Linked DNA regions of Homo sapiens: regions 2, 3, 4, 5, 6 and 7 are each linked to region 1. Evidence: promoter capture Hi-C in 16 types of primary human blood cells and fetal thymus (Javierre and others, 2016). All regions are on one chromosome and are shown on one strand. The core of a region is centred on a gene start or on the middle of the fragment in contact, and the rest is flanking DNA. Distances in the headings are between cores, read along the strand shown.

The links. Contacts are between HindIII fragments. The CHiCAGO score rates a contact against its expected background, and 5 or more counts as called.
Region 2: a contact is called between a fragment that was not itself captured here and the fragment with the promoter of KIF26A in region 1, in 14 of 17 cell types (M1 macrophages, M2 macrophages, M0 macrophages and 11 more). The highest score is 23.5, in M1 macrophages.
Region 3: a fragment that was not itself captured here is called in contact with the fragment with the promoter of KIF26A in region 1 in 8 of 17 cell types (M2 macrophages, M1 macrophages, naive CD4 T cells and 5 more); the score reaches 9.2 in M2 macrophages.
Region 4: a fragment that was not itself captured here is called in contact with the fragment with the promoter of KIF26A in region 1 in 3 of 17 cell types (endothelial precursors, M0 macrophages and M1 macrophages); the score reaches 8.4 in endothelial precursors.
Region 5: a contact is called between a fragment that was not itself captured here and the fragment with the promoter of KIF26A in region 1, in 14 of 17 cell types (naive CD4 T cells, endothelial precursors, naive CD8 T cells and 11 more). The highest score is 34.1, in naive CD4 T cells.
Region 6: a fragment that was not itself captured here is called in contact with the fragment with the promoter of KIF26A in region 1 in 11 of 17 cell types (naive CD8 T cells, naive CD4 T cells, total CD4 T cells and 8 more); the score reaches 16.9 in naive CD8 T cells.
Region 7: a contact is called between a fragment that was not itself captured here and the fragment with the promoter of KIF26A in region 1, in 8 of 17 cell types (total CD8 T cells, naive CD4 T cells, non-activated CD4 T cells and 5 more). The highest score is 10.2, in total CD8 T cells.

What each region holds. Positions count from the first base shown.
Region 1 is chr14:104,137,163-104,140,261 of GRCh38, reverse strand. KIF26A (kinesin family member 26A) reads right to left here and starts at 1,675. Exons shown (of 15, transcript NM_015656.2): 1 at 1,498-1,675; 2 at 974-1,219. The coding sequence starts at 1,539. It overlaps KIF26A-DT (KIF26A divergent transcript), which reads left to right and starts at 1,633. Exons shown (of 3, transcript NR_158217.1): 1 at 1,633-2,732; 2 at 3,020-3,099. RefSeq lists a silencer at 2,507-2,676 and enhancers at 2,373-3,084, 3,085-3,099. The HindIII fragment of the contact is 14,398 bases long and covers 1-3,099 here.
Region 2 is chr14:104,628,769-104,631,867 of GRCh38, reverse strand. No RefSeq gene overlaps it. Among named protein-coding and RNA genes, the nearest start is that of TMEM179, 26 kb to the right of the region's middle. The HindIII fragment of the contact is 4,545 bases long and covers 1-3,099 here.
Region 3 is chr14:104,610,639-104,613,737 of GRCh38, reverse strand. No RefSeq gene overlaps it. Among named protein-coding and RNA genes, the nearest start is that of TMEM179, 7.4 kb to the right of the region's middle. The HindIII fragment of the contact is 479 bases long and covers 1,415-1,893 here.
Region 4 is chr14:104,593,581-104,596,679 of GRCh38, reverse strand. It overlaps TMEM179 (transmembrane protein 179), which reads left to right. Exons shown (of 4, transcript NM_001286389.2): 3 at 1,437-1,515; 4 at 3,022-3,099. Among named protein-coding and RNA genes, the nearest start is that of TMEM179, 9.6 kb to the left of the region's middle. The HindIII fragment of the contact is 2,635 bases long and covers 217-2,851 here.
Region 5 is chr14:104,572,290-104,575,388 of GRCh38, reverse strand. No RefSeq gene overlaps it. Among named protein-coding and RNA genes, the nearest start is that of C14orf180, 5.9 kb to the left of the region's middle. The HindIII fragment of the contact is 1,291 bases long and covers 782-2,072 here.
Region 6 is chr14:104,537,633-104,540,731 of GRCh38, reverse strand. The region is part of intron 1 of LOC124903395 (a long non-coding RNA gene); the gene reads left to right. Among named protein-coding and RNA genes, the nearest start is that of C14orf180, 41 kb to the left of the region's middle. The HindIII fragment of the contact is 856 bases long and covers 1,018-1,873 here.
Region 7 is chr14:104,520,634-104,523,732 of GRCh38, reverse strand. No RefSeq gene overlaps it. Among named protein-coding and RNA genes, the nearest start is that of C14orf180, 58 kb to the left of the region's middle. The HindIII fragment of the contact is 3,221 bases long and covers 62-3,099 here.

The sequences.
Region 1 (3,099 bases), core at 426-2,925:
CTATCCCTCGCCGAGACTCCAGAGAGCCCGGAGACGGTGCCCAGGACAGAAACCAGACTGGTACCCTGCCCCACCCTGCCCTGCCCCAGACAGGGCAGTCAGGGTCTCAGCTCACTCCAACCCCCACAGCCCTTAGAGAACTATATTTAGATTCAATGGGGATTATGCGGACTTCCCAGGAACTCTTTCATAAAGGCTGAAGGCCCGGCAGCGGGCTTCCTCTGGAGACCCCCACCCGCCCCCAGCCTTTGCAAACTTCCAGCATGCATTGTTCCTGGAACAATGGTCCCTGCTCCCTCCAAAGCCGGCAGGCCCACTGGCTGGAAATCCAGGAGAACCCCTCCCCTGCAAGCACCTGCCCCTGGGGCTGGAGCCTGGGGAACCCAGAGGGCCCCGACTCAATTCCCCATGGGCGGCCACTGCCTCAGTCTATCCCAGGAGGTATGGGACAACAGTTCTTATCCTTGAGGCTGGGAGAGGAGTAGGCAGGGACCCCCCAGCTGCTGTGGCCCACCCTTTCACCTGCCAGGCCCCCCGGCCCCAGGTATGTAATTTCCAGACACCTGGCTGGGGGCCCAGGTGCCCCAAGGGCCACAATGCACCAAATAACCTCTCCCTGCTGGTAGGGCTGGAGCTGTCCCGCCCTGGGTGGAGTCCCTGCCATCCGCTCTCTCCCCTCCTCCTCCCACACAAACCTGCGTTCCAGCTGTGGGACATCTGGGCTGGGGGAGGAACGCCAGCCCAGGCCCCTCCCATCCGAGGCAGCAGGGCCCCTCGGGCTGAGCTCCCTAGCTCACACATGGTGTTACAGACCGGGAAACTGAGGCCCGCAGAAGGGAAGTCCTGGCTGATAACTCTTTGTGGAAACAGCAGCAGGGAAGGAGTGGAACCCTGCTTCCCTCCAAGCCCCAAGTTCTACCCAAGTTCGGCGTGGCCCTGCTCGGAGGGGTCGGCCTAAGGAAGTGTCACTTACCCGGAGGGTGGTCCCGGGCCCGCTGACCAGCTTCCACGCCTGTCGCTTGAGCTCCACCAGCTTCGTGTGGCAGTGGCGGCACCAGCCGCCTCCGCCGGCCGAGTGGCCCTGCTCTGGGCCGGCCCCGGCGCCTTCGGGAGCAGGGCGGCTGCCGCATGGGTCCTGGTCGGGCCCGGCGGGTAGCCTCTTTCGGGGGGACACCTCCAGCAGCGGCGGCGGCTCGCGGGCCGGGCCGCCCTCGGCCACCTGCAGGGTGTGGGGGCGGAAGCGGACAGTGAGCCTGGGACGTCCGTCGGATCCAGACCCCTGCGCGCCCTGCCCCAGCGTGACGCTCTTGCCAAAGTTAGGAGCCCTGGGCACGACCCTGGCGCTCACCCACTCCCTCCATCCCCGGAGGTCCCGCCTGCGGGTCCGCTACCCTCAGCAGGAGGCCCGGCCCCCAGGGATCCAGCGCACACCGCGAGTATCTTCGCCGTCCCGGGCCCCCGCCGCCCGCCTCCCTCTCCAGGCCGGGCCGCGCGTACCGCGGGCTGCGCAGCGCACAGAGGGACGCCGCGGCCGACCATGGCCGGGGCGCGGGAAGAGCCCGGCAGGCGCTCCCGGCCACGCTGGCTCTCCGGGGGCGCCGCGGCTACGTGATCCGGCCCCGAGGCGCCCCCATGGCCCGGCCCAGCCGCTCGGAAGTTCGCAGAGCCTGCGAGTGTCGCGAGGAGCGCGGTGGCTCCGGTGGGCGCGCTCGGGAGGCGAGGGCGGGGCCGGGGAAGGGCGGGGCTCGGGCTCCCGGGGCGGGCGGCGAGGGGCGGGAGCCCAGAGAGTGCCCCGCCCTTGCCCAGTGCTGGGCGGCGCGTGGGGGGGGTAGGGTCCCCGCTTCCCCACGCGGCCCCGCGCACTCCAAGGACCCCAACCTGTTAGGTGAGTCCCTGCCCCGGGGAGGGGCGCTGGGGGCGGCGGCGAGGATCTAGTTGCGCGCGCGCATGCGCCTCCCGCCCCTCTCCCGGGACACCAGGGCTGCGCGTCTCCCAGGAGGCGCCGACGCCCCTCCCTCTACAGGCGGGAAAACTGAGGCTGCGGAGGGGACGCTCTTGCCCAAGGCCCACGGCGAGGTGGGCCGAGGAAGGGGCGGGACCCCGGCCCCGAGACTCCCAGGCGCCTTTCCAGCAAGCCCAGCGTACTCTGCGTGTCGCGGGCCACTTTAGGTCTAACTGTCGCGCGTGGGTTAGTGTCGCCGCGGTGTGCGCCTCGAGCCGGGCAGCGACCGCGCCGGCGTATCTGTGCCTCGGCGCGTCTGCGAACGGCACGTGTCTTTACAGCCGCGCGTGTGCCCGCAAGTGGGTGTGCGCGCCGTGCCGCCCGGGAAGCGGGAGGTCCTGCGGGCGTGCGCCGGACCTGTTGTCAGCAGGCCTGGCAGATGGGAACTCAGCTCCGGAATTAATTGCTTGTTTGTCTCCGGCTGGGAGGCCGCCCCCCCGCCCTTCCCTGGCGACCAGTTGCTCTGTGCCTAGCCGGGCCCCAAATGTCGCCGGCATCCGCGGCCGCAGGCAGCTCCGGGCCAGGCTCCGGGTCAGCCCCAAAGCCCGGGTCAAGCCAGGCGGGCGCGGCGGGCGGGCTCCCCGTGACGCGAGTGCCCCCTGCCGGCCGCTGCGCACACGGCTCCGAGACTGGGGAGACAGCGCCGCGCGTCCCAGGCCTGAGGCGCACTCGGAAACTCCGAAGGTCGTGACCCGGCGGAGACCAGGACACGCGGCTGCCGGCACATACGGTGAGGCCTTCGCAGAGACTCAGTACGTCAAAGTGACCCTTTCCGTTTTGCCCACCCCCTTTTACTTGGATAAGCCTCCCCGCCCACGCACGCACTCCCCAGAAAGTGGGGTGGGTGATCCCCTCCCGGCTTTCCGGGTCGTTGATGACCTTAGGGGTTCGAAAACGCAAGGGGGTATGGAATAAAGTGGCAGGGGCTCTCCACTCTTTCTGAGATCCGTAAGCCTGCAGTCGCTTTCCACCCAGCCTGGGGGGCCGGAAGCGCTTCCCCTACCCGTCTCTTCGCAGCCTGGAGAATGAAAACGGGCGTCAGCCCACATCTGGATCTGGGTACTGAGGACAACACCCAAACCCCACCCCGCACTGCC
Region 2 (3,099 bases), core at 434-2,933, 490 kb before region 1:
AAGCCGGCAGGTGGAGGTGACAGTGAGCCGAGATGGCACCACTGCACTCAGCCGATGCGACAGAGCAAGACTCTGTCTCAAAAAAAATAAAAAAATAAATAAATTCCATGAACTAACACTGAATAACATTTAAAATTCAGCTTCTCACGCCAGTTGTACCAGTCACATTTCAAGTGCTCGGCAGTCACAAATAACTGACAACTATAAAAATGAACAGGGATAGGGAAGATGTGAAAAGCACAATTAAGTTTGTTTGAATAGACACCTGGGGTAACTGCACTCAATCCCAGGCCACACATGCTTTCTAGGCACCCATGGGGCATTTTCAAAAGTTGGCCACATTTCAAAAATACCAAAAAGTGGTTTGTTGGGGCCATATTCTGTGATCAAACTGTGGTAAACTTGGAAATCAGTAACAAAAGGTAGTAACAAAATCCATAGTTGTCAAATGAAAAACACACGTATAAATAATTCATTTTCAAAGACAAAATCATAAAAGAAATTAGAAAATGTTTAGATTTGCATAATAACTACTTATCAAAACTTGTGGGGTTCAGCTAAAACAGTACTTACAGACAGGTTAGTCTATTTTACCATTTTGCTTCTCAAAAATCTAGATTTGGCTGGGCTCGGTGGCTCACACCTGTAATCCCAGCACTTTGGGAGGCCGAGGCCAGTGGATCACCTGAGGTCAGGAGTTCAAGACCAGCCTGGGCAACGTGGTGAAACCCCGTCTCTACTAAAAATACAAAAATCAGCCAGGCGTAGTGGCGCGCACCTGTAGTCTCGGCTACTCGGGAGGCTGAGGTGGGAGAATTGCTTGAACCCGGGAGGTGGAGGTTGCAGTGAGCCGAGATCATGCCACTGCACTCCAGCCTGGGCAACAGAGTGAGACTCTGCCTCGAAAAAAAAGAAAAAAAAATCTAGTTTTGGCCAGTCATTCTTAGCGATTTTTGTTCTCTGTTCCATTCATTTCTGCACATACATTTATGGTTCCATTCCTTTCTTGGGTTTGTGGTGTGGCTGGTTTCGTGTTTCTTGATTTAGATTCTTAACTCAAGAATTTTAACTATCTATTATATTACAATATGTGCAGTTTTAGGTTACATATTTCCCTTCCCAGCATTACTTCAGCTGCATCTCCTTAGACTGTGCTGCTTCACTGTGCTTTTCTCTTCTTTCTGATCCTTATTAGTTTTTATGATTTTCAGTTGTGAAGTGGAAAATCTTCCACTCTGATGTCAACTTGTCAATTTTTCATTGTAATCTGAACCTTTTTTATTTATATATTTGAGCTATGTTTGTCATTCTACGGTAATCTCTGAATCTTTACTAATGCTTTTTTACTTGACATTTATTTTGTTTGGTATTAATATAACTTCATAAACTTAAAGAGAATAAAGTATTTGCTAATTTTTAAAATTTCTTCTTGAAACCTAAATTGTTGGTGTTTCTGTATTTTGCATCTCTTAGGAAAGCGTATAGCTGGATTTGGTTTTGTCGAAGCTCTATTTTAACTTGCAAGTTCAGTTTATTCATATTTATTGACACATTTGGATTCACTTCTGCAATTTTATTTTGTGATTTTTATTTCTTGTGATTTTCCTTGGCTTCTTTCTCCCTCGTTTTCTGTTTTCTGTGGGGCTGAGGCATTTTTTTCCTTCTTCCTTTTTCTTTCCAAATTCTGTTTTTATTTTTAGTAGATACATGCATACTTGGCTTAAAGTCTAAACGCAATCAAAATCTATACAATCCTCTAGAATATTAAAAGGACGTTGGAATATTTGAATGGTAATTATACTATTCTGTATGTGTTTTTCTGAACTGTTATTTTAGTTTCATCTTATTTCTTGTTTTCATATCACAAAATTTGTCCTTATCATCATTTAATAACGATTAATCTCATTTGGATTTACTTACATATTTTATATTTTCTCCTCACCACTACTTTTTTTTTCTTTTTTGAGGCAGAGTCTCACTCTGTCACCCAGGCTGAAGTGCAATGGCACGATCTCAGCTCATTTCAACCTCCGCCTCCTGGGTTCAAGCGATTCTCGTGCCTCAGCCTCTTGAGTAGATGGGATTACAGGCTCCCACCACCATGCCTGGATAATTTTTGTATTTTTAGTAGAGACATGGTTTCACCATGGTGCCCAGGCCGGTCTTGAACTTTTGACTTCAGGTGATCCACTGGCCTTGGCCTCCCAAAGTGCTGGGATTGCAGGTGTGAGCCACCATGCCTAGCACCCCACCACTACTTCTTGACTCTCACTCCTTCCTTTGGATTTAATTTGTTTCTCTCTGAAAAATATCCTTTAGGAATTCTTTCAGTGAAGGAATGTGATTGTTCAATTTTTAATTTTTGTTTGTTGAAAGTGTTTTAAAAAATATAGTTGCCACCCTGACTGGCAATGTTGTTGGGTATAAAATTCCAGGTTGACACATACTTTCTCTCAGCATGGTGAAGACATTTCCTCACTCTGTTCTGGCTTCTATTGTTGTTGTTAAGAAGTCAGCTGAATTATAGTTCCCTTGTAGGTTATCTGCCAATATGGGCTAAATTGTGCCCCACTCCCCAGGATGACATCCCAATCCCCAGTACCTCAGAATGTAATCGTGTTTGGATAAGGTCTATAAAAGGTAATTAAGTTAAAAACGAGGCCACTGAGGGGGATCCTAATCCAATCTGACTGGTGTCCTTATAAGAAGAGGTAGAGACACACGGAGGAAAGGCCATGGAAGAGCATACTGGGAAGGTGGCTATCCGCCAGGCAAGGAGAGAGGCCTCAGCACAAACCAAACCTGCCAACACCGACAGCTTGAGCTTGGACTTCCAGCCTCCAGGACTGAGAAAAGGAATTTCTGTTGTTTAAGCCTCCCAGTCTGTGGTATTTTGTTATGGCAGGCCTAGCAAACCAATACTTCTGGTTTTTGCTGTTTACTCTGTTTTTTTTTTTTTTTTTTTTTTTTCTTTAGACAGAGTCTCACTCTGTTGCCCAGGCTGGAGTGCAGTGGTGCAATCTCGGCTCACTGCCACCTCCACCTCCACCTCCCGAGTTCACGCCATTGTCCTGCCTCAGCCTCCCGAGTAGCTGGGAC
Region 3 (3,099 bases), core at 405-2,904, 470 kb before region 1:
TTCCCCTTCGACCAGAGGCCTTGCAGCGCCATCCATGGGCCCTGCCTCGAGTCCTAGGGCACTGCCTGCTGGCCTGGCTCTTCTACACAATCCACAGCTTCCCTCACATGGGATGTGGTGGGGGTGAGGAAGTGCCTGCTGAGGAGACTCTTTCTGGAGTGTTCTATTTATAACCTCCTGCTTTAGAGAAGTTCCAGGTGCACCTGGGCCCTGTACTATGTATTTCTGGACTCTTTCCCACACCTGGCCAAAGCCAGCTGTCCTGGATCCTTCCAGGCCTCAGGCAACAGGACAGACAGGCCCTGACTGGGAGCTGGCAGGAAGGAGAAAAGCAAAGCATCCCTGAGGTAGGGGCGGTACTGCAGCAGAGGACAAGGATAGGAGGGAGCTCTGCAGCCTGGGGGTCAGTGGGGGGAGCCATACCACCCCTGAAGTTCCAGGTGGACATCTCCTCCACAGAGGGAGCTGGGAGTGTCCTCCCCTAGCCCCAGTGACAGCGGCTGGAGCACAGGGTCTCTCTCCCCTCACTCATGTGTGCAGATGGTAGTCACAAGCTGGTGAGGCTGTGGAGAAATAGGAACACTTTTACACTGTTGGTGGGAGTGTAAATTAGTTCAACCATTGGGAAGACAGTGTGGTGATTCCTCAGGGATCTAGAACCAGAAATACCATTGGACCCAGCAATCCCATTACTGGGTGTATACCCAAAGGATTGTAAATCATTCTACTATAAAGACACATGCACACGTATGTTTATTGCAACACTATTTACAATAGCAAAGACTTGGAACCAACTCAAATGCCCATCAGTGATAGACTGGATTAAGAAAATGTGGCACATATACACCATGGAATACCATGCAGCCATAAAGAAGAATGAGTTCATGTCCAAAACCGAACACCAGCTGTTCTCACTCATAAGTGGGAGTTGAACAGTGAGAACACATGGACACAGGGAGGGGAACATCACACACTGGGGCCTGTTGAGGGGTGGGGGGTAAGGGGAGGGAGAGCATTAGGACAAATACCTAATGCATGAGGGGCTTAAAGCCTAGATGACAGGTTGATAGGTGCAGCAAACTACCATGGCACATGTATACCTATGCAACAAACCAGCACATTCTGCACATGTATCCCAGAACTGAAAGTAAAATAATAAAAATAATTATATCAAAAAAGATGAAATAAATCGCCAATGTCCATATGAAAAAATGTGCTATTTGTATAATACACCAAAGACAAAAGGAAGAGCAGTTCCAGAAGCAAATCCACTTATATGTGAATTTAAAATATTTTAAAGTTAAAATTTTTAAAAAGTAAAAGAAGTTCAATATACAATTGCCACCCATATAAGGGGAAAAGGTTGATCACCTTTCACAATATCCAAAACATTGAATTGAAAGTTATTTAAGCTTTAAAAGAGATTTTGTAAATAGCAAAAGTATTAAATTTTTAAAGACTATAAAAAATAAAATGGGGTAATACAAACACATGACTTGACAATTTGCTTTTTTAAATATAGCACTAGACAGATAATCCTTCAAGCCAATACTCACAGAAACGACTCCCGTTTAACAGCTCAAAACTTTCCATTATAAGGAGGTGCCAGAATGTATTAAATTGCTCCCTGGTTTATAAACATTCTGGTTGTTTTCCATTTTTGGCTGGTACAAACCGTTGTAATAAACATTCATGTACACATGTCCTTATGAAATGAGGCTTTTCTGTTGAGCCCCCGTGTTTCAGAAGTGGTGGATCTGGGTCAAAGCATGTGCGGCGATCTTAGCTTCTACTGACTGTGCCAGTTCCCGCCAGAAGACCACGGGGCTCCCTCCTCCCTGGGGTCCCCAGCTTTGGCAGGCCAGGAGTGGGCATTATCAGCCTTTTAAAGCTTTGGGATTTAATTTTGGAGGCAGCCTGCGTCCAGTGATGGGTCAGTGTGGAGGTACAAAGGTCCAGCTCCTGCTCCTCTGTGGGGTCGCTCTGAAGGGGCTGTTCCCAGGGGATTGCTTCTGTGTCACCGAGCATTTCTCCCTTGGCCCAGTCCTGCTGCTCTTGGTGGCTCACAGGTGTTGCTCCTGAGAGGAACCCGCACACTCAGTCCTCCTGTCTACAAACCTCGAGGTCCAGCGTCAGTTCTCCTAAACTAGGGGTGGTCCTAGGAGGCAGACACACATGGGATTTGGGGCTAGACTAACCACTGCCAGTCACTGGCTGCGGTCCCTGTTGCTGTGGCTGGTGCAGAAGTGATAGCCCTGCCGTGTCAGGGACCCTCTCACCGTGGTGCCCCAGGTGCTGTATTGGGTAGGGGAGGAACTGCACTGGTTGGTGCCTTATCTCAGAAGCACGAGAGGCAGAGGCAATGTAGGAATCACAGAGCCATGGATCAGATGGCTGTTGCTGGGTGCTACAAATTCCTGGAGAAAGATGATGGGAGCCGAGCTTGACTCATCTCCACTCAAGGCTGGGTGTGGGGGCAGTGGGCCTGCTTGGCAGCCTGTCCAGAGAGTCTCATCCCCTACGGTTGGAGGCAGGGACAGGTGGGGGTCCAGTCCAGGGCTTAAATTCTAAGAGCAACATAGCTCCTGAGGTGATGGGACCCTCAGCCTTGGCAAGGCTGCCATGCTGGCCTCAGGCCTCCATGGTGGGCCCCTTTAGGATAGAACTTATTCCCCAAACTGCCATATGAGCTGCCCTCGATGGCTCCTGGCTGCCAGCCTCTTCTGATGCTGCCTCATCCCAGGTCACTCCCTGTCCCAGGCCAGCTGCTTCCAGTGACTGATCAACATGTGCTTACAAAGGCCCAGGCCCTTGACCCTGGGGTCAGCTGAGCCACCACTGAGACTGTGTCTCGGCCAGGAGCCCCTCTGCCCTCTCCTGTTTTTCTTTTCTTCCCCATCTGTGCTCACAGAATCCTTCCAACAAACCTCACTGGGTACTTCTCCACCTTAGAGCCTGCTTTCTAGGGAACCCCACCTGTGATGACATGCTCAGAGGTTGGGGCTCTCCCATGCCTTCTGGAAGCCTCTGGGCCTACAGAAGGGGCTTGCTCCTTCCTGTCAGAGACAGGCACTTCCTTGTGTATGAGTTTTCTGGGAC
Region 4 (3,099 bases), core at 285-2,784, 460 kb before region 1:
CCACCAGGGCTTAGATGACAGATCCCGTGCAGCATGGCCCCGGGTCCTGGGAGGCTCGGTGTGGCCACACAGCCGGAGACTGTGGGGCTTCTGTCCTGTGCTGGCTGCATGGGAGAGCCCAGGGAGCATTAGGCTCAGGGCTTTGGTCCTCATGGTGAGGAGTTTGGAAGATGGTGGAAGGGACGGGGATGGTGAAGAACAGGAGCAGAGGAAGCTTCTGGCAGGGTGAGGGTCAGCTCCCAGGCGGGTTGGGGATGGAGGCCTTTGAGCCATGGTGGTCCCTCTGGGATCTTAGCAGGGGCATCATCTGGCTTGTGGGGGGCCCCAGAGTGGAGCACAGTGACTGCCTGCCCCCCACAGTGGGATGCCCCGCCCTGAGGGGCACCATGCAGTGCCCCAGGCCAAAACCCTGGAAGACAGGAACCCTCCAGAGTTTCCACATTCTTCCTTTAAGCAAACCCAGACCTGAAACCCCAGCATCTGCAACAGATGCAGCAGAGCTGAAGGGGCTCCCTGCCTGTCTGTTCCGTGCCTCCACCCTGGGGTAGCTGGGGCACAAACCAGAGGAAAGCAGGAGCACCTGGGTGTGTGGCCCTGCAGGGCCTCCTGTGCTGAGCTGTGCCCTGTGCCTCATCGTGCACTGTCCCAGCTCTGCCTGCTGGCTCGGGCCACCTGCTTCCCAAGAGTGTGGGCAACCTCTGGTACACACGCAAAGTTTCCTTGGCCTCACAGACACTGTTTCCAGCCCTTCAGCCCCTCCAGGGATTTGGGGCCGCTGGGCCCCCTCTTTCTGGCACCCTGCTCCTGTCAATGTGTCCTGGCTTCACGTTTTATGTTGGGGGTGCAGGACACCTACCGGGAGCCCAGGCCTGGCTCACTCCTGGGCCCTCTGATGCCCACTGCTTCCACAGATGCCTCCGTGATGGGGGCAGAGCTTCTGGGCAGCGTTGGTGGGGATGCCACCTCCATCTCTGTCTGGCTGAGGCAGCCCTGCATCTCCTGCCTCTGAGACCCTGTGACCCTCAGAGTGTGGGGCATGGGGGGCAGAGGGTCCAGAAAAGCAGAGGCTGAGCTGGCGTCTTCCGGCCGTCCTGGGTCAGGACAGGGAGGGGCCTGGCCTCTGAGACCCCGTGATCCTCAGAGTGTGGGGCATGGGGGGCAGAGGGTCCAGGAGGGCAGAGGCAGAGCTGGCGTCTTCTGGCTGTCCAGGGCCAGGACAGGGAGGGGCCTGGAGGTTTCCTTCCCCAAAGGCTGTCCTGCTCCATGGAGGAGGCATCGAGGCTAACCCTCCGTGATGTCCCCAGAGACTCCCTGCTGCCCACCCCCTCGCCCAACAATTGTAGGGCAAAGCTCCTGGCTCTCTGGCCAGCGGCTCAGCCATGTCCCGCACTGGCTGTCCTGGTGGTCACCCTCCACCCTATGTCCTGCTGTTTTAGCTGTGAAGAGCTCCAGGACATCGACTTGGAGCTGGGCGTGGACAACTCCGCCTTCTACGATCAGTTTGCAATTGCCCAGGTAGGGGGCTCTGGGCAAGAAGGGAGGCTTGCAATGCTGGGAGGGGGCCATTTACTGCTGGACATTTGCTGAGCTCTCCCCCATCCAGAGGAGGAGGCAGGCTCCTGTGTGGATAAGGTAGTTAGCAATGGGACCAGGCAGTGGGAGCAGTCGGGAAGGCTTCCTGCAGGAGGTGGGGGAGAGCTGGGCTTTTGTAGGTGGGTTTGGGGAGGAGATGGCCACAGTGAGTTAGAATCAGGAAGTGGCAAGGCCCTGGGGTCTGGGGTGGGAAGTGTGGGGGTGTGGGGGGAGGTGGTGCCAGAAACGAAACCAGGCATCAGATCCTGGGGGTCCAGTGTAGGGACAAGGGCTTTGGACTTTGGTGCTGGCGCTGGGTGGGCCTGTTCAGATCAGAGCTGGAGGCTTAGAGGAGTCCCCTAGCCAGGGGGAAGCTGATACAGAGTCCAAGGAAGGAGGCAGGGGATCCCACTTGTGAATTCAGATTTGCCACCCTGCCCTTGTATAAGCTGCGTCCCCCGCCCCCTAGGAGACTTGGTGGAGGGCGATGGTGGCCCCCACTCTGAGGGACGCTATTTGCTGAAATGCAGGCATGTGGGGACACATCAGTGGCCCGTGAGGGCCGGAGGGGGAACCCTGGAATTGGGTTTGCCCCTTGAAATCTGCAGATGTGCCCCAGACGGAGATGAGGCAGATGAGGGGTGCCGGGTGGGGGTGGCTGAGACCAGACACCTGGCTCCTGCCAGCACTGATCAGGGCCCGCTGGCTTCAGGTCCAATTCCGGACCCCAGGCTGGCCTCTGAAGGCTCTTGCTGGCCGTGGCTGGCCTGAGGACGCTTCTCCTGGCCAGGAGCCCTCCAAGGGTGCTGGACATGGGTGGGCCTGAATGCTCTTTGCCGAGATGAACTGGACCTGTCAAAGACACCTTCATGCAAATTTAGTGAGTGGAAGAGGCCTCAGGCCTAATTTGTGCCAGTTGGATTAAGGTGTGAGTGCAGTCTGATGGCAAATACGCTCAAATGAGAATCAGCTTAATGTAGCTCAGGCCTGGTTCTGATTAAATTGTTTCTCCTTCAACTGTTTGGAAACAGCGGCTAAAGGTCAATTTATTCCGGTGGTTGGAGGAGCCTCCGCTGTTTACCCGCCCTCCTTAGAGCCGACAGGCCGGAGCTGCTGGAGGAGAAAGCACTCGCCACTGGCCACTGCCCCTCCTCGGGGCCTCTGGCCGGCCTGGAGTGAGGGTTGGTCTGAGTGCCCAGGGCTTTTGCACCAGAGTGGGTTCCGGGAGGGCCACAGGTGCTGGAAAACGATGCTGGCTGCAGGAAGGAACTCAGAAGCTTGATCTTGGGCAGGGTCTTCAGGAGCTGGCCCTGCCCCATGTCCCCGGCCTCCTCCTTCCTCTGAGTCCTGTCCTTTCCCTGCAGAGCAGAGCCTGGGGGCTGGTGGGAGGGGGTTGCACTGACAGCGGACCCCCAACGGCTTCTGACCCTGACCCTGCCCTCTGTGCAGTTTGGCCTCTGGGCCTCATGGCTGGCCTGGCTGGCCATCACCACGCTGGCCTTCCTGAAGGTCTACCACAACTACCGT
Region 5 (3,099 bases), core at 178-2,677, 440 kb before region 1:
CCGAGCCGGGGCCCCCCGAGCTGCCTGCCACAGCTGTTTTTCCAGCAGCATCTTAGGGGCTGGCTGGAGGGGCCGGGAGATCCTTCCACCACCCCGCCTGACCTGCTGAAGGTTCTGGGCTCTGAGGCGAGGCCGTGTGGGGGTCTGTCTGGGCTTCAGTGGGGCGACTGCAGGCGTGGGCCCCGGGGGCAGCCGGTCAGCCCAGGTTCCCACTGTGGGCGCCATCCCTGGTCTCCGGGCCTGAGGACCCACCGCAGGGACCTGGCTGCGGCCGGCCGGGGCCGAGCATTCACACGTCACACACAGCCTCATTCTCACACCAGAAGCGTGCATTCTCTGTGGCGCAGGCAAGCCACACATCTGTGGACATGTGCGCCGAACTGTGAGGGCCACGCTGTCCGTGTGCAAAAGTGCTACGTGCTGTAAAATAAAAATAAAACCCTAAGGCCCCAACCGACTGAACAGGCTCCTCTTGGCCAAAGGGACTCCAGAGAAACCGGAACAACTGAGTTCCCAGTCATGATGGGACAGGAGGGCAGACGTGCCTCGCTCTCCCCCTTCCCTGCGGGAGTTCAGGCAGGGCTGACCAGTAGTGACGTTAACCTAGTGATCAGAGGACTGTGACCCTAAGACTCGAATTATAAACAGGACCGAAGGCCGCCAGCCCAGGGTCAAGTCATGCACCCCACACGCCACTGTGACCTGGTGTATCGGTTAAAAGACTTCTTAATCTTCACCGAAAACATTCCTTTCTGATGACTGCACATTTATAGACAAAGCTTTACTTCTTTAACTAATTGCAAATGAAATAATCTCTGGCCCCGCTGACGACCTGTCAGCCCCCTGCTTCAAGACACCCTGCCTTTCTGGGCTGAACCGATGTAGAAGCTCCTTGAACTATGACTGCCTGCAATTCCGTCACACTAAGGTGGGTGGGAAGCAGAGCTGGTGTCTGGCTGCCTCAGGACCCCCCACTCAGGGCTCCCTGGGTGTGTGCACTTTTTCCTGGGCCGCGGTCACTCATATTGGCTCAGAAGAAAGCTCCGTGTTCTACGGAGTTGGGTCTTTCCATTAACCATGCTCTCCAAGCGCTAGATGGGCAGAATGCATACTTGTGTGCAACGGCTTAGCTCCTCACAGGGCTTAGCTCCTCTTCCCTCCCCACCGCCTCCTGAGCCCCAGGCCTGGCCTCATTGGCAGATAAGGACAGGGGCTCTGTAGGGGGAAGCTCCTTGCCGGGCTGTGAGGCGGCAGCTTACGGAGTGGGCTCAGATCCAGGGGACTGGGTGCCGCCCTTGGTCATGACTCCCCTGCACACAGCTGCTGGGACATGGGGCACAGGCACAGGACACTGGGAAGAGCTTGGCACCAGAACCGGGGGAGGGAGGGCCCCACCCACACCCTGTCCTGGGCCTGCCACCTTGGGCAGTCAGTGCCTGGCCGAGAGCTACTACCTCCTGCCCCAGGGGAATCCTCTCCTTGCAGGGCCGTGGCAGGTTCTGAGGGGCTACTGTGTGCCTCCTTGTGAAAGCGGCAAGGTTGGGCTGGCCGGGCAGGCACACAGTTCTGGTTCACGCGGGTGCCCACCTGGCAGTGGCTGAGTGGCCCAGAGCCTGGGTGCCCAAAGTTCCCTCAGCCCAGGTGTGCCCGTCACTGGTGCTGCCCTCCCTGTTGCCGCCTGGAGCCCTCCGGCCCACTGGGGAGGGCAGCTTCTCCTGATCTTTCCACCGTGTCAGGAGCAGCTGGCCTGAAAGGGCAGAAGTCAGTGTCCAGGGCCCACAGAAACTATGTGCTGGGCAGGAGACTCTCCTGATCTTTTGAGAGCTGTGGGTACGGGCTCTGAGCTGGCAGTGATATCAGGGGACCCAGAACCCCGCTGTGGGTAGAGTAAGGGCTCCCGGAGACCTGGAGGCAAGCCCGCCCTGCAGTGACCCTGGGACCCTCAGCCTCTCGTGCCTAAGGGAAGGGGCTGCCTGTACTCTGCAGTTGGCAGAGCCTGCCCATTGGTTCCTTGACCTAATGATTATGAGCCATTTTGGCAGGAAAAAAACCCAAACGAACAAGTGGAAGCTTCTAAGACCCTGGCCAAGAGAGTCATTCCACACATCCTGAGCATCTGCAGAAATTAGGACCATCCCCAAAGACTCAAAAGATACAGGGATGGTCAGTCCCACTGTCCCCACTGTTCCCACTCTGTTCACCCATATGGTCCACAAAAACCAGCAGCATCATGGCCGATGGTGATGGATGAACCCAACCCAACGCAGAGTCAGCCCACATGGAAAATGCGCCGCCGGATGCGATACCTCGACTGAACCGAGTCACCACATCCTCTGGCCCTGGGTGTGTGCGGTGTGTCTAGCAAGTGTGTCCTTCTCAACCACCTCAGTAGAGAGGGGCCCACCCAGCTGCCTGTGAGAGACAGCAGTGCTCCAGCCACTGGCACTTTCTTGCTACTCTTGCAATCCAGTGCTCTGGGACACTCCTGGTCTGCGGAAAATGATGCTGATCAGCTACATTCGTGACGTCATGCTTAGTACGTCACATGGCAGGTGGTCCAGACCTCCAGGAACCCATGCAACAATGGTAGCCATGATTAATGGACAATGGAGGAAAAACTCTAGCCCCGGTCCCCAGGCATTTGGCTGGGGAAGTCAGTGCAACATAACATGACTGGCTGTGGCACTGGTGACCCCTCGGGTGGCCCTGAGGGCAGGGATGAGCTGTGAGCACCGCCTTGGGTGTCACTGTGGCTGAGGGAAGGATGGATGCAGGCTCCTGGGCCATGGCAGCTGGCCTGGATGACCAGGTAGGAGCCTGTGGGAAGCATAGGCTCGAGGACCAGGAGGTATGGGGGGAGGGCTGTGGGTGGGTGTGCAGGGTGGGCACACAGCTTGTGGCTCTCTGGTCCTGTGCCTGCTGGAGAGCATTGAGGGACAGGCTGGCTGGGGGAGGGGCTGCTGCAAGACACCCTGGGCAGCAGCCAAGGCCCTGTCTTGGGACACAGAGGGAAGGGATGGGTGAGACTCCTCTGCGGGGCAGTGCCTGCCTCCCCCTTGCCCCGTTCTGGGGCACATGCACCAGCAGCTCTGAGTGGAG
Region 6 (3,099 bases), core at 196-2,695, 400 kb before region 1:
TAGCCTTAAAAATGCTTCCATTATGAAAAAAGAAAGAACTTCAATCAATGGTCTCATCTTGCGCCTTAAAGGCCAGAAAAAGAAGAGCAACTTAAATTTGAGGAGCAGAAAAAGAAAACAATAAAGATCAGAGTAGAAATCAATGAAGTAGAAAATAATAAAATGCAATAATAATAGAGAAAATCAATGAAACCAGAAGCTAGTTATTCAGAAGCTTAATAAAGTTGATAAACCTGTGGCTATATTCATCAAGAAAAAAGAAGAGAAGACACAAGTTACCAGTATCAGGAAGGAGAAAGGTGACATCACTGCAAATTTATTTTGCAAATATTAAAAGGATGGTAAAGGCACATATTATGGACTTTATACCAGTGTATTTGACAACTTAAATAAAATGAACAAATTACTCAAAAGATACAAACTACCAGAGTTGACTTAAGAAACAGATAATTTGGCCCTATATCTATTCCAAAAGTTGAATTTACTGTTAAATTCTTCCCCAAAGAAAACCTCACACCTAGATGGCTTCACTAGCAAATTATGCCAAACATTTATGGAAGAAATGATACCAAATCCACACAAACATTTTCAGAAAACTGAAGAGGAGGGAATACTCCTTCCAGGAGGCCATCATACTATGATACCAAAACCAAGACATTAAAATAAAAGAAAATTACAGCAAATATCCCTCATGAACATAGGTGAAAATATTCTAAACACATTTTAACAAAATGAACCTAACAATAGTTTAGTTAAAGAAAGACAGTACAACCAAGTGGGATTTAAGTCAGGAATGCAGGTATAGCTTAATATCAGAAAATCAATCAATGTAATTTATCATATTAATAAAACCATGAAAAATCATATGACGAAGCCAAAAATGCAGAAACATAAAAAATTCAATATACTTTAATAATAAAAACTCTCAACAAAGTAGGAATAGCAGGAAACTTTCTGAATCTGACAAAAGGCATCTGTAAAAACCCTACAGTGAACGTGACGCTTAATGTAAAAGCTTCAATGCTCTTTCCCTAAGACTGGGAACAAGACAAGGGTGTTCTCTTTCATCACTTCTACTCAATATTGTACAGGTTCTAGTCTGTGCAATACGGCAAGAAAAAGAAATAAAGGGCGTCCATACTGGAAAGGGAGCAATAAAGCTGTTTTTACTTGCAGACAACATCATCATCTATATACAAAGTGTAATGGAATCCTTAAAAATATTTTAATTAATAAGCGAGTTCTGGCTGGGCGCGGTGGCTCACGCCTGTAATCCCAGCACTTTGGGAGGCCGAGGCGGGCGGATCACAAGGTCAGGAGATCGAGACCATCTTGGCTAACACAGTGAAACCCCGTCTCTACTAAAAATACAAAAAATTAGCCGGGCGCGGTGGCAGGCGCCTGTAGTCCCAGCTACTCGGGAGGTTGAGGCAGGAGAATGGCGTGAACCTGGGAGGCGGAGCTTGCAGTGAGCCAAGATTGTGCCACTGCAATCCGGCCTGGGCTAAAGAGCGGGACTCCGTCTCAAAAAAAAAAAAAAAAAAAAGCGAGTTCAGCAAAGTGAAAGGATACAAGATCAATCAACAAAAATCTATTGTTTGCCATGTGCTATTAGCAAACAATCAGAAAATAAAAATTAAAAATACCATGTATAGGCCAGGTGCGGTGGCTCACGCCTGTAATCCCAGCACTTTGGGAGGCCAAGGTGGGTGGATCACGAGGTCAGGAAATCGAGACCATCCTGGCTAACACGGTGAAACTCCGTCTCTACTAAAAATACAAAAAATTTGCTGGGCATGGTGGTGGGCGCCTGTAGTCTCAGCTACTTGGGAGGCTGAGGCAGGAGAATGGCGTGAACTCGGGAGGTGAAGCTTGCAGTGAGCTGAGATTAGCCACTGCACTCCAGCCCGGGCTATAGAGTGAGACTCTCTCTCTCAAAAAAACAAAACAAAACAAAACAAAACAAACCCATTTATAATATAAACATATAAAATAAATATTTTGAGATAAATCTGACAAGATATATGAGAGACCTGTACACTAAAAACTGCAATGCTGGCTGGGCGTAGTGGCTCACGCCTGTAATCCCAGCACTTTGGGAGGCTGAGGCGGGCAGGTTGCCTGAGGTCAGGAGTTTGAGACCAGCCTCACCAACATGGGGAAACCCCATCTCTACGAAAAATGCAAAAATTAACCAGGCATGGTGGCGGAAGCCTGTAATCCCAGCTGCTTTGGAGGCTGAGATAGGAGAATTGCTTGAACCCGGGAGGTGGAGGTTGCAATGAGCTGAGACTGGGCCATTGCACTCCAGCCTGGGCAACAAAAGCGAAACTCCATTTCAAAACAAAAACAAAAACAAAAACAGAAAACAAAACAAAACAAAAAACCCACTGCAATGCTTTGCTGAAAGAAACTAAAAAAGATCTAAATAAATGAATGGTTATACTATATTTATACATCAGAAGACTGAAAATTGTTAAGATGTCAATTCTCCCTGGACTGATGTATAGATTCATTTCAATCCCAATCAAAATCCCATTAGGCATTTTTGTAAGAATTAATAAGTTGATTCTAATATTCATATGGAAATGCAAAGAACTTGTAATAGGCAAGACAACTTGGAGAAAAAAAGAAAGTTGTAGAATTAATACTATCCAATTTCAACTTATTATAAACCTACATTAATAAAAATAATGTCTTATCGCTATGAAGATAGACAAATAGGTCAATGGAACAGAAAAGAGTCCAAAAATGAAAGGCAGGATGTGGTTTATAGACTTCCTTCTCTTTGAGGTTCCTGAACTGGAAAGACATGAGTCCAATGCTGGAAACAATTTCCTCCGGTGAATGGAAAGCCTGTGAGAGAAAGTGGCCAGTGCAGAGGAAAGAAAAGCATGGGTGGGGGGGATCAGATGGATGCTGATCGTGGAGCACCTTGATTCAGCCGAGCCTGCAGCCACTCTTCTGTTGGACTTTTCAATTAGACAAGCCAATACATTTTGTTCATTTTTCTTAAACCTGTTTCTGTTTACTTGGCTGCACTTAGGCATTCTAGAAGTTTTTCCAGGTTCCTTCTGACATTTACCTGGGATTGAAGCC
Region 7 (3,099 bases), core at 423-2,922, 380 kb before region 1:
CTCCTGCTTTCTCCCTGTGGCATGCCTGTTCCCCCTTCACCTTCCACTGTGACTGAAAGCTTCTGAGGCCTCCCTAGGAGCCGAGCAGATGTGGGTGCCACGCTTCCTGCAGAACCCTGAACCAATTATACCATTTTTCTTTATAAATTGCCCAGTCTCAGGTATTTCTTCATAGCAATGGAAGAATGGCCTAATACAGCTGGGGGTTTATGTTGGGATTTGTCAGACGGGTGCAGTGGTGTTGGTGAGAGAGGTGGCCGTGGAATCTGTGCGTGGCCGGGTGGGATGGAGGCCACGACGCCTCCTGTCTGAGGGCAGCCAGCTGAACAAACCGGGCTCAGAGCTCATCAGGTGGATGAGTGCTGGGCCTCAGAGGGCTCTGGGTCTCTTGTCCAGTGATGGCCTCTCCAGTGACCTTTGTGTCTGCCCCAGCTCCATGGCCACAATCCGGATGTTGCTGTTATCCTGGAAGAAGAGCCCCAGGTCCCAGGATGGCTGATGTTCAGGGAAGGCCCATGCAGTGGGGGTGAGATGGTGCGGGTCTGCGTGGGAGGAGACTGGTTGGAAGGCAGCAGCACTGAGGGCCGGGGGTCCCCACACCACCCACAGCCACAGACCCCATCCTCTAGTGGAGGCTGCTGCCGTCCCCAAGCTGGGCCTCAGGGCTCTGAGCAGGACTGTCCTCCTGGCTTCCTGTGCTTGGGATGAGAACATCCTGGCTGACCCGGCAGGCCCCAAATCCAATGGCAAATGTCCTTGTAAGAGAACATGGAGGAGGCACACAGAGGCAGAAGAAGCCCACATTGAGACAGAGACGGAGTTGGAGGGAGGCCTCCACAAGCCCAGGAATGCTGGAGCCCCCAGAAGCTGGAGGAAGCAGGAGGGGTTCCCGCTCGAGTCCTTGGGGGAGCGCAGGCCTGTGAGGGAGGCCAGCACACTGCAGGCCTGTGACTTTACCCCAGAGGCCTTGGCAGGATGTTATCACTGAGCCATACTTGTGGCAGCAGGGCTCCCATCCTAAGAGAGGAAGGGGCCTGGAGGCCACAGGGGAAAAGGGCCATGGGAGGTCAGGAAACCAGGCTCCAAGCCTGATCTCCAGGACCAGGATGGCTGCTGGGAAGGTACCCTGAGGGGGCCTGCATCTGCAGCCAGGGAGAGGATAAGGAAGCCAGGCCTGTGGCCTGGGACCTTGTAGAGCTGATGGGGAGAGGCCTGAACTGCTCTAAGGAGATGAAGCAGAAGGCCCCTGTCCACCTCTGAGGCTGAGCAGATGCTCAGTTTTGTGTGGCCCCAGCATCCTGGCAAGGCGTGGTGCTGACCCAGCTCGGGAAACCTTCCCTGAGATGCTTTCACTTCTGACTCTCCCTGCACAACCTCCTTAGATGGCTCCCACTCTGCCCACACTGATGAATGGGCAGTCCTGGGAGCGACAGACAGTGGGTTCCAATTCTATGCCGCTGCCACAGTGGCCAGGCTGCAGCCCCCAGGGACTCTATAGACCCAGGTAAGAGTGACAGAGTGAACCAACAAAACTGTCTATTAAAATGTGGAAAACAGAAGATGGAAAAATCCTGAAAGTAGCTGGAAGAGGCAGACGATCTTCAAAACAGCAGCCAATATCCGCACAATTGGCCCCTCAGTGTGGTCCACAGAACCCAGAAGACCATGACCATGGAGCACACTCACAAAGATGGCGTGAGGTGCAGCATCTTGTATTCATCCTGGAGGAAGGAGCTTGACATACGCCACACCTCTGGGCCCTGGAGACTTCACTGATGGGCAGGCCTCTGATGTTTTGTGGGGTTTATTTCCTACCTTCTAGTTAGTGTGTGTCTTACTAAGGCATTTAAAGTTATTTTCACTTCCTGCTCATCAGACACAGTCAGCTCAGTGTAATGTCATGAGTGTAGAGGACCAGCGTGATGCTTTGTAGGTGGGAAAATCTCTGCTTCTTATCACTGCAGGTGGGAGAACTGGCATGACCCAGAAGCAAGACTGTGAAAGGGCACTGTTGGCCCGGCCAGGTGAGAAAACCAAACTGCTCTGGTGATCTTTCCAAACTGGTACAGAGAAGACATTGGTGAGGTCAAGAGCTGAATAACAAGGGCTAGGGGCCATGCCATTTTCTACAGTAAAGATAATACATGTGGGACAACAGGTGCACCTGGATTCACCACCTGCTTCAGTTTACATCAGTGCACGGTCATTCTCCAAGGTTCACCCAACTTTTACACAGGCTTGACAGCCGAATTAAATGTGTGTGTGTGTGTGTGTGCAATGATCACTTCTGTTTCTTTCAAGCCTTGATGATGGCGTTAATCTCTGCAGTTTCCCCGGGAATGTGATATTGATTCTGGTTCTCTTATGGATAGGAAAGGAAGTCCCAGCGTTTTCCATCTAGTTCCTCTACCACAAATGCCCTCACTCCAGGGCTCAGGGAACCATGCTGGGGATCCCGCTAGTTGGCAGTATGTCTATTCCAATTATACATTCAGGAACTGGGGATACAACCAGACTGTGGGTCCGTGGACAGCCTACCCTGTGAGAGGTGAGCTAATGGGGGTTCCATCCATGACCTGACCACTGTATGTTCCCATGTGACTGATGGGCTGTGCTCGTGTTTTGGGTTCCCAAGGATTAGCATCAATTCAGAGCCCTGCAAAGTTCCATTCTCCAGCTCACAGTTACTCCCATGAATGGTCGTACATCCCTTTGGGAAAGGCGTGGAGGAGTATTTCCAGCATGGGCTGCAAATCACAGGTCATTGGATTGTGCATTGAGTTGGGTGTGCAAATGGGTGAGAGGCTGCGACTGGCCACTGCGGTGACTCAGGTCGGGGGTTTGGCTGGCACACCTGGGGTTCTCCTGTTATTTAGACCAAAGAATACCCTAGTAGGCTGCCCACCACTTTTGTCCTTGAGACCCTGTGATTAATTAGCTGCCACCAAAGACCTTGGTGATCAAGGTGCCATGGTTATGTGTGTCCCTGCTTTCCCTCGCTGTCGGTGGGCTGCCTGGTCTCTGATGTCTAGGTGCTGTGTTAGCCTCTGCTACTTCAGGATACCATCGTCCCCACTGAAGGGAGGAATTTCTCATGGT